2 separate regions of the Homo sapiens genome follow, and region 2 is linked to region 1. The links are contacts of gene promoters, found by promoter capture Hi-C in human tissues and cell types (Jung and others, 2019). All regions are on one chromosome and are shown on one strand. The core of a region is centred on a gene start or on the middle of the fragment in contact, and the rest is flanking DNA. Distances in the headings are between cores, read along the strand shown.

Evidence for each region. Contacts are between HindIII fragments. The study calls those that stand out against the background at their distance.
Region 2: a fragment that was not itself captured here is called in contact with the fragment with the promoter of POLRMT in region 1 in 2 of the 25 tissues and cell types used here (IMR-90 fibroblasts and pancreas).

Annotation. Positions count from the first base shown.
Region 1 is chr19:631,972-637,270 of GRCh38, forward strand. It overlaps POLRMT (RNA polymerase mitochondrial), which reads right to left and starts at 1,566. Exons shown (of 21, transcript NM_005035.4): 1 at 1,454-1,566; 2 at 863-967. The coding sequence starts at 1,541. LOC105372234 (a long non-coding RNA gene) reads left to right here and starts at 1,493. Exons shown (of 2, transcript XR_936226.2): 1 at 1,493-1,924; 2 at 2,013-5,299. RefSeq lists silencers at 1,350-1,509, 1,520-1,779 and an enhancer at 5,090-5,149. The HindIII fragment of the contact is 7,301 bases long and covers 1-1,638 here.
Region 2 is chr19:513,396-518,442 of GRCh38, forward strand. All of the region lies in intron 1 of TPGS1 (tubulin polyglutamylase complex subunit 1), which reads left to right. Among named protein-coding and RNA genes, the nearest start is that of MADCAM1-AS1, 8.0 kb to the left of the region's middle. The HindIII fragment of the contact is 7,591 bases long and covers 1-5,047 here.

The DNA of each region.
Region 1 (5,299 bases), core at 316-2,815:
ACCATGTTGGCCAGGCTGGTCTTGAACTCATGACCTCTTGATCCGCCCGCCTCGGCCTCCCAAAGTGCTGGGATTACAGGCGTGAGCCACCGCACCAGGCCTCGGACCCTTGACCTCTTGATCCGCCCACCTTGGCCACCCAAAAGTGCTGGGAGTACAGGCGTGAGCCACCGCACCAGGCCTCGAACCCCCGACCTCTTGATCCGCCCACCTCGGCCACCCAAAAGTGCTGGGATTACAGGCGTGAGCCACCGCACCTGGCCAGGTTTTTTCCCTTTATAAAGGTTCTCCCGCCTCTCCCTTCCCGGCTGCCTAATGGACGCAGACAGGATGTGGGACAGAAGCACCGGCGGGAAGCAAGCACAGGGAAGCTCCCACCTCCCTCCCACACCACCAGCCAGGCCAGGACGAGGGCCTGCCACCGCTGGAGCCTGGGCTGTCCCTCCCAAGTTTCGCAGTCATCCAGTCTCCATTAGGCGCCTACCCCCCAGAGCCAAGCCAGGACAGCTGAGTCAGTTCAGGGTTCACATCCTGGCTCTGCACATGTGGCCTTGGCGGCGGGGCCGGGGGGGGGGTCTCTCCAGACATAATCTTGGGCCTCACCTATGTCCCTGGAAAGTGGGAGCACCTGGTGGGGTTCTGGGGAGGGGGAATTACGAGAGCTCCAGGAAGGAGCCTGCTCAGCAAGGACAGGGCCCATGAGCGGTGCAAGAGATGTTTCAGCAACGCCGTCTGGGCGTGTCCTGGGACCCGAGAGGTGGAGACCGCCCTCAGCCTGTCTCAGAATCTGAGCCTTTGCCTTTTCTCCCGGCAGCAGGGAGCGGACTCTCCTCTCCCGGGCCGCCGTGGGGGTCGCGCTCACCCTCCAGCAGCTCCACGTGGCCCCAGTCCTTCCTGCGGTCTTGGTCTTGCTCCTGGGGGCTGGCGGACGAGCTCCTCCTGGGGCCGCAGACGCCACCGGCGGTCCCTGCGGGAAAGACGAGAGCGGCTGAGCGGGGCCGGGCGTGTGGGCGGGGGCCTCCATAAAGGCAGAAGCCGAAGGGTCGAAGGGCAAAGGAGCCCTAAACGCAGCGGAAACTCTCGGAGCACGGGCTTAAGTTGGAAAGAAACTAAGACAGCGAAGGTGGAAGGGCCCCGCCGCGGCGAACACGGGCGCGGAACCGCCGAGAGAGGGTTCCTCGCACTCGAGGTGCAGCAGGTCAAAGGTTAAGAGCCCTAAACACCACACCTGGGGTCAGGAGGCTGCATAAGAAACCACGAGTCAAAGGTCAGACTGCACGGAGGAGCCTCAGTCGAAAAGCGGGCAAGGGCGAGTGGAAAGCGGGGCCGGGTCGGTGGGCTGCGCACGCCCAGGTGCAAAGAGGCAAAGGTCAAAGCGCCAAAGGCCCCGGCCGCGCGGGGAGGAGCCCACGCCGTGGCCCCCGGGCTGCCTGGCCGTCTCCCTTTGTGTTACCTTCTTTGCCGGGGAGTCCCGGGCGGCCGCAAGGCCGTAGGGCTCGTTTGAGCCCCGCCGCTCCGCGGCCCCAGCAAAGTGCCGACATTACGCACGCCGCTCCAGGCCACCCCACCGGCCCGCGCCTGCGCATGCGCCCGCGCCGCCTGCCGGGAGTTGTGGTTTCATGGTCGACGGAGGCTGCGAAGGGAAACCCCAGCCGGAAGTAGACTCCCAGGATGCAGCGGAGGCGCGAAGGCATGCGCCGGTGGACGCTCTGATTGGTTCCTCCTGCTGTTTTTAAAGGGAGGGGGCGGGACAGAGCTGTTGCCGTGGCAACTGGGAGGCACTCTCAGGCTGTTTTCCCGAGGACCTCAAATCCGGACTTTTTTTCTGTTTTTCTTTCTTTTTTGGTTTTGTTTTGGACGCGTTGTGGCCCAGGCTGGAGTGCAGTGGCGTGATCATAGCTCAGTGCAGCTTCGAACTGCTGGGGTAAAGAGATCCTCGCCCCTCGGCTTCCCAAAGCGCTGGGATTGCAGACGCCGCCACCGTGCCCGGCTTTTTTTTTTTTTTTTTCAAGGCATACTCATCTAATAACGAGGACAGCATCTGCAATTTAGAGATTCCTGTCCGCAACCTTCATTGCTCCAACGACAACTTTTGGGTAAGAGTCATTAGGATGCCGTCTATCATGGAGGAAGCTGAGGCTCAGAGAGGGCCACCAAGTTGCTGGAAGACACAGCACGTGCGACCTCAGGGAGGCTGCAAGGAGAGAAAGCCCCAGTCCGCGAGACTCCCAGCCTCCAGCTTCAGTTTACCCTCCAATCCCCAAGCCCTCAGGGGCAGGAGCCGAATGGAGCGGCAGGCTTGGATTCACCTGCTAAGTGGGGTGAGGTCAAGGGAATGAAATAAACCTCGGAGCCTAGAGCCTGCCCTGGTCTCCGCGTGATCCTGCCTAGGAGGAGCAGGGCGGGAGCTTTAGAATGGAACCTGGAAGGTGTGCCCACCTGTGTCGTTCAGCCGGGGCAGCAGGCCAGAGGCGGGAGCGCCTGCTGTGGGGCAGTAGGCTTGGGAAGGGTGAGAATAGGAATATCTGGGGGTAACTGTGTTCCAGGCTAATATCCCAGTTGCAAAGGGGAGCTGGTTTGGTGGCTCAGGCCTGTCATCCCAGCACTTTGGGAGGCTGAGGCGGGCGGATCACCTAAGGTCAGAGTTCGAGACCAGCTTGGCAAATACGCAAGCATGCCTGGCAACATGGCAAAACCCCGTCTCTAGTAAAAATACAAAAATTATCCGGGGGTGGTGGCGGGCACCTGTAATCCCAGCTACTCGGGAGGCTGAGGCAGGAGAATCGCTTGAACCCGGGAGGCGGAGGTTGCAGTGAGCCAAGATCTCGCCACTGCACTCCAGCCTGGGTGACAGAGCGAGAACCTGTCTCAAAAAAAAAAAAGTGCAAAGGGAGGTCAGTTCAGTGCCTCAGGCCTGTAATCCCAGCACTTTGGGAGGCTGCGGCGGGAGGATCGCTTGAGCCCAGGAGTTCCAGACAAGCCTTGGGCAACCGAGATACTGAGACCCAGTCTCCACCAAAGGAAAAAAAGAAATTAGCCAGGCATGGTGGTGCACACCTGTGGTCCCAGATACTCGGGAGGCTGAGGCAGGAGGACTGCTTGAGCCCAGGAGGTTTAGACTGCAGTGAGCTGAGATGGCGCCACTGTACTCCAGCCTGGGTTGACAGAACAGGACCCTGTCTCAAAACAAAACAAGTGCAAAGGCCCTGAGGCAGGAACAAGCGTGGACAGAGGAGCAATTTGAGCAGAGTGGGGCTGGGGAGAGGGAGCAAAGATGTAGCTGGGGCTCAGTTAGGGGGCCTGACCACACGGGGGCTCGGGGGCCTCAGCTCAAGCTATCCTCCATCCCCAAACCCTGGCACTTCAGTTTCCCCATCAGCCCAGAACGAGGACTCGACCTCACTCTGGAAGGGCCTGGCAGCCTCCTTACAGCACATTCCAGACGCTGCTGCCGACGCCTGCGTGAGCGCACTGATGCCACCGGCTGGGAATGTTTTCGACAGACGGCAGCACCCTCCCTCACCTGCCTCAGTCCACCTCAGGGTGCCCCAGCGGGCTGTGACCTCAGACCTCACCCACTACTGGGGTCACCTGCCTGGCCCTGAATCAGCCAGGCCTGGTGTGCCAAGACCTACAGACACCCCCTGCACCCCTGCAGGCTGGCAGAGCCAGAAACTTGGGTGGAAACCGACTTCTGAACTATTTCACCATTCCTTATGCGTTAGTCTTTTCTTTTATTTGATGAGATCCCAGCACTTTGGGAGGCCGAGGCGGGCGGATCACGTGAGGTCAGGAGTTTGAGACCAGCCTGGCCAACATGGTGAAACCCCGTCTCTACTAAAAATACGAAAATTAGCCGGGCATGGTGGCCTGTGCCTGTAATCCCAGCTACTCAGGAGGCCAAGGGAGGAAAATCACTTGAACCTGAGAGGTGGAGGTTACAGTGAGCCAAGATCGCACCACTGCACTCCAGCCTTGGGCAATGTAGCCAAACCCCATCACTACAAATAATACAAAAAAATTTTGTTGGCTGTGATGGTGCCTGCCTGTGGCCCCATCTACTTGGGAGGCTGAGGTGGGAAGATGTAGAATTGCTTGAGCCAGGAGGCAGAGGCTGCAGTGAGCTGTGATTGAGCCACTGCACTCCAGCCTGGGCGACAGAGCGAGACCCTGTCTCAAAAAAAAAAGAACATAATCTGGGTTTTGGAATAAGACAGCAGTTTCTGAAACAGCTCATTGCCCAAATTCCAGCCTCGCAACTCTGTAGCCGCCACCACCCCCCAGCCCCACCATTTATTTTAACTACATCTGTCTCCACCACTCCTGTATTAAGTAAATGCAATATTGGCTGGTCATGGTGGCTCATGCCTGTAATTCCAGCACTTTGGGAGGCTGAGGCAGGCAGATCCCCTGAGGTCAGGAGTTCGAGACTGGCCTGGCCAACGTGGTGAAACCCTGTCTCCACTAAAAATTCAAAAATTAGCCGGACGTGGTAGTGGGTGGTGCCTGTAATCCCAGCTACTTGGGAGGCTGAGGTAAGAGAAATGCTTGAATCCAAGAGACTGAGGTTGCAGTGAGCTGAGATCTCGCCGCTGCACTCCAGCCTGAACGACAGAGCGAGACTCCGTCTCAAAAATAAATTAATAAATACAACATTAATTATTTTTCTTGCTTAAGTTTTACGAAGAGACTTAATATCACCATCAAAAGTGGGAAACCATATATCTGGCCGGGCGTGGTGGCTCCCGCCTGTCATCCCAGCACTACGGGAGGCCGAGGCGGGCGGATCCCCTGAGGCCGGGAGCTGGAGACCAGCCTGGCTAACATGGTGAAACCCTCATCTCCAATAAAAATAACAAAAATTAGCCGGGCATGGTGGGTGCCTGTAATCCCAGCTATTCAGGAGGCTGAGGCAGAAGAATCACTTGAACCCGGGAGGCGGAGGTTGCAGGGAGCCGAGATCACACCACTGCCCTCCGGCCTGGGCGACAGAGCGAGACTCTGTCTAAAAACAAAACAAAACAAAACCCAACCAAGCAAACCCCACAGAGTCGAGAATCGCTAGATGGAAGGGGATGGCCCAGGTCCCTGGAGCCCCTGTGACAAATTACCACAAACTCGGTGCCTTAAAGCAACGTTCATTTTCTTACATTTCTGGAAATGAAAAGTCCAAAATCAGGACTGCGGGGCTGAAGTCAAGGTGTGTGGAGGCCTCGCTCCCTCCAGAGGCCCTGGGGCTCCTTCCTGCCTCTCCCAGCTTTTGAAGGCTCCAGGTGTGCTTGGCCTGCGGCCACATCAC
Region 2 (5,047 bases), core at 39-2,538, 120 kb before region 1:
GCCTCTGGGCCTCAGTTTCCTCCTCCATAGCAGAGCTTTGACCCTCGAGCTCGCTGAGATGGCACGTCCATCCCTAAGCCCTGAACTGAGCAGCAGTGATGACCAGGGAGGCACGTGTTCACCAGGCACCCACCGTGCACCGGCCCAGCATTACTGAGCACCTACTGTGCACCCGCCCAGCATTTACTGAGCACCTACTGCATGCCGGCCCTGCATTACTGAACACCTACTGCACACCAGCCCAGCATTACTGAGCACCTACTGCATACTGGCCCTGCATTACTGAGTACCTACTGCACACCAGCCCAGCATTACTGAGTACCTACTGCACACCAGCCCAGCATTACTGAGTACCTACTGCACACCAGCCCAGCATTACTGAGTACCTACTGCACACCAGCCCCACATTTACTGAGCACCTACTGCACACTGGCCCCACATTTACTGAGCACCTATTGCATCCTGGCCCAGCATTTAGTGAGCACCCACTGCACACAACCCCAGCATTACTGAGCACCTACTGTGCACTAGTCCTGCATTACTGAGCACCTGCTGCACACCAACCTGCCCCGGCCCCACATTTACTGAGCACCTATTGCATGCTGGCCCAGCATTTACTGAGCACCCACTGTACACAGACCCAGCATTACTGAGCACCCACTGCACACTGGCCCCACATTTGCTGAGCACCTACTATGTACCAGCCCTGCATTCACTAAGCACCTACTGTACACCAGCCCTGTATTACTGAGCACCCACTGCACACTGACCCTACATTTACTGAGCACCTATTGCATGCTGGCCCAGCATTTACTTCACTCCCACTGCACACCGCCCCAGCATTACTGAGTACCTACCGTGTACTGGCCCTGCATTCACTGAGCACCTACTCTACACCGGCCCTGTATTACTGAGCACCCACTGCACACCGACCCCACGTTTACTAAGCACCTATTGCTTACTGGCCCAGCATTTACTGAGCACCCACTGCACACCGCCCCAGCATTACTGAGTACCTATTGCACACCAGCCCCACATTTACTGAGCACCTATTGCATTCTGGCCCAGCATCACTGAGCACCTACTGTGTACCAGCCCTGCATTACTGAGCACCTGCTGCACACCAACCCTGCATTTACTGAGCACCTACTGCATGCTGGCTTAGCACTTCCCCGGCACCTACCACAGGTGGCCCACAGAAAGGTGAAGTCGTGTGCCCAGGTCATGCCGGAGGGAAGGCTGCCCTCCTCACCATGAAGCTGAGCTCCCAGAAGGGAAAAGCGTAAGCCCTGAGGTTGGCCACTTCCTCTCTGGGACCCTTGGCCAGACCATGGGGCTGCCCTGAGCCTCAGTTTCCCTATATGTCCCAGAGGAAGTAACAGGCCACTAGCATGAGGCCTGGCCGGGAACTGATGGGGGGAGTGAGGCCAGGGGGTTAAGCAGCCCACCCAGGGTCCTGCAGCGGCCCCCACGCTGGCCACGGTGCTCCCTGGCCACTCCCTGGTGCCCTCCACGGGAGTGTGTGTCACACTACCAGCACACGAGTGGCACGTAGTAAGGCCTCAGGCTCCTCACTGGGGCAGGGAATCGAACCCACCCCAGAGCCGGCAGCAGGGCTGACAGCCTTCTTCTGTAAGGGGCCAGATAGTGAACATTTCAGCTTTGCGTGGCAGCCTCCATCCTGACATTCAGCTCTACGGTTCTGGTCGGAAGCTGCCACAGGCCACATGTCAGCGGACTGATGTGGTTATGTTCCGATAAAGCTTTATTTACAAAAGCAGGCAGCAGGTCGTATTTGACCCTCAGGCTGACTGTGGGGCCTTGCCTGTGGGATTGTGGGGAGAGAAATACCACCACTGGCCCCGAGCAGCAACTGTCACCTGTAATCCCAGCAGTTTGGGAGGCTGAGGCAGGAGGATCGCTTGAGCCCAGGAGGTGGAGGCTGCTGTGAGCCCTGATTGTACCACTGCTCTCCAGCCTGCACAACACAGTGAGACCCTGTCTCAAAAAAAAAAAAAAAAGAAAAAATGCAATGTCAGCTGTGTTAAATGTTCAGCACAGACTGGGCGCAGTGGCTCACACCTGTAATCCCAGCACTTTGGGAGGCCGAGGTGGGCGGACCACGAGGTCACTCGAGATCCAGACCATCCTGGCCGACATGGTGAAACCCCGTCTCTACTAAAAATACAAAAATTAGCTGGGTGTGGTAACACACGCCTGTAATCCCAGCAGCTCAGGAGGCTGAGGCAGGAGAATCGCTTGAACCCGGGAGGTGGAGGTTGCTGTGAGCTGAGATTGTGCCACTGCACTCCAGCCTGACAACAGAGTGAGACACTGTCTCAAAAAAAGAAAGAGGGCCGGGCGCGGTGGCTCACGCCTGTAATCCCAGCACTTTGGGAGGCCGAGGCGGGTGGATCACGAGGTCAGGAGATCGAGACCATCCCGGCTAAAACGGTGAAACCCCGTCTCTACTAAAAATACAAAAAATTAGCCGGGCATAGTGGCGGACGCCTGTAGTCCCAGCTACTTGGGAGGCTGAGGCAGGAGAATGGCGTGAACCCGGGAGGCGGAGCTTGCAGTGAGCCGAGATCCCGCCACTGCACTCCAGCCCGGGCGACAGAGCGAGACTCCGTCTCAAAAAAAAAAAAAAAAGGAAGAAAGAAAGAAAGAAAAGAAAAAAACAAATGTCAGTTGTGTTAAATGTTGGGCACAGTATTTGGCCACATGTAAACAGGCGCTGCTGCTGCAGGGAGGGAGACCAGAGGGTCCTGGTGTTGTGGGACAAAGAGTGGAGAGACCGAAAAAGGTTCAGGAGAGTTTATCAAGGTGATCACCGGCTCAGCTGGACATACATCCAGAAAGTCTGAGCCTCGAACAAAGGGCTTTTCCTATTTTTAAACATCGTAAGGCGGGAACTACGTGAGGCGGGAAGCAAGTTACAGAGGCGAGAAACAAAGGCAGTTAAGCATTACAGCATTTCTTTTTTCTTTTTCTTTTTTTTTTTTTTGAGACGGAGTCTCGCTCTGTCGCCCAGGCTGGAGTGCAGTGGCGCCATCTTGGCTCACCGCAACCTCCACCTCCCAGGTTCAAGCGATTCTCCTGCCTCAGACTCCCGAGTAGCTGGGACTACAGACGTGTACCACCACGTCCCGCTAATTTTTGTATTTTTAGTAGAGATGGGGTTTCACCATGTTGGCCAGGATGGCCTCAATCTCTTGACCTTGTGATCCTCCCACCTCGGCCTCCCAAAGTGCTGGGATTACAGGCGTGAGCCACCGTGCCTGGCCAACATTTCTCACATCTTGAGAAAAACATGTCTTACAACCTAAACTTATCGGTTTTGTGACCCTGCAGCCGTGCTAGGGAGGTAAGCAGGAACTCGCTGGGCCTGTAATAAACTGAGGAATGTGGAGTTGGAGAGTATAGATAAGGTCCACTGACTACAGAGAGAAGACAGGCTGTTAACATTCTCTTTTAACTTGAGTGTAAGGGTGGGGGTCACACTTTGCAGCAACTTTAAGAGGATTTTAAAATTTCTATGACTACTACTATTAGGTTAGAGCTGATTTCACTAATTCCTTCTTCACTGGGGCCAGATGCCCCAGACAGATGCCTGCCGTTGATTCAAGACATTTACTGAGCACCTACTGTGGGCAGGGCAGTGTTCTGGGCACCAGGGCTATAACCAAGACGAACTTCCGGCCCTGGAGGGCAGGTGCTCACACTGGTGGGAGACATGAAGCTCACAGGGATGTGGGACAGCGAGTGAGACAGGATGACCACTAGGAAGAAAACAGGAGGAAAGGAGTTAGGGGTCAGGGGAGGCGACATTTGAGGAGAGACCTGGAGGAGACCAGGGAGGAGGTGAGGGAGATCTGGGGGAAGGCAGTGTCACGGCCCTTGCAGAGGCCCTGAGGCCGGTCCAGTTGGAGCTGGGAAGCCAGGGCTGGATGGGAGCTGCGGGGAGGAGAGGCCTGAGCTGGGTGGAGGCTGGGAGGGGGGAGGCCAGGCTGGGTGGGGGCTGGGAGGGGGGAGGCCAGGCTGGGTGGGGGCTGGCCAGGCTGGGTGGGGGCTGGGAGGATGGAGGCCAGGATGGGTGGGGGCTGGAAGGGGGGAGGCCCAGGCTGGGGGGTGCTGGGAGGACGGAGGCCAGGCTGGGTGGGGGCTGGGAGGGGGGAGGCCAGGATGGGTGGGGGCTGGGAGGAGGGAGGCCAGGCTGGGTGGGGGCTAGAAGGGGGGAGACCCAGGCTGGGGGGTGCTGGGAGGACGGAGGCCAGGCTGGGTGGGGGCTGGGAGGGGGGAGGCCAGGCTGGGGGGTGCTGGGAGGAGGAGGCCGAGGCTGGGTAGGGGCTGGGACGGGGGAGGCCAGGCTGGGTGGAGGCGGGGATGAGGGAGACCCAGGTTGGGAGGAGGAGGCCGAGGCTGGGGGTGCTGGTGGGGAGGGGAGGCCCGGGCTGGGCGGTGCTGGGAGGAGGGAGGCCAGGCTGGGTGGGGGCTGGGAGGAGGAGGCCCAGGCTGGGTAGAGGCTGGGAGGAGGGAGATCCAGGTTGGGAGGAGGCCCAGGCTGGGTAGAGGCTGGGAGGAGGGAGATCCAGGTTGGGAGGAGGCCGAGGCTGGGGGTGCTGGTGGGGAGGGGAGGCCCAGGCTGAGGGGGTGCTGGGAGGAGGAAGGCCTGGCTGGGTGGGTGCTGGGAGGAGGGAGCCCCGGGCTGGGGGGTGCTGGGAGGAAGGAGGCCAGGCTGGGTGGGAGCTGGGAGGAGGGAGGCCCAGGCTGGGAGTGCTGGTGGGGTGGGGAGGGGAGGCCCAGGTTGAGTAGGGGCTGGGAAGAGGGAGGCCCCGGCTGGGTAGGGGCTGGGAGGAGGGAGGCCAGGCTGGGTGGGAGCTGGGAGGAGGGGAGGTCCAGGCTGGGTAGGGGCTGGGAGGAGGGAGGCCCAGGCTGGGAGTGCTGGTGGGGTGGGGAGGGGAGGCCCAGGTTGAGTAGGGGCTGGGAAGAGGGAGGCCCGGGCTGGGTAGGGGCTGGGAGGAGGGAGGCCTGGGCTTGGGATACT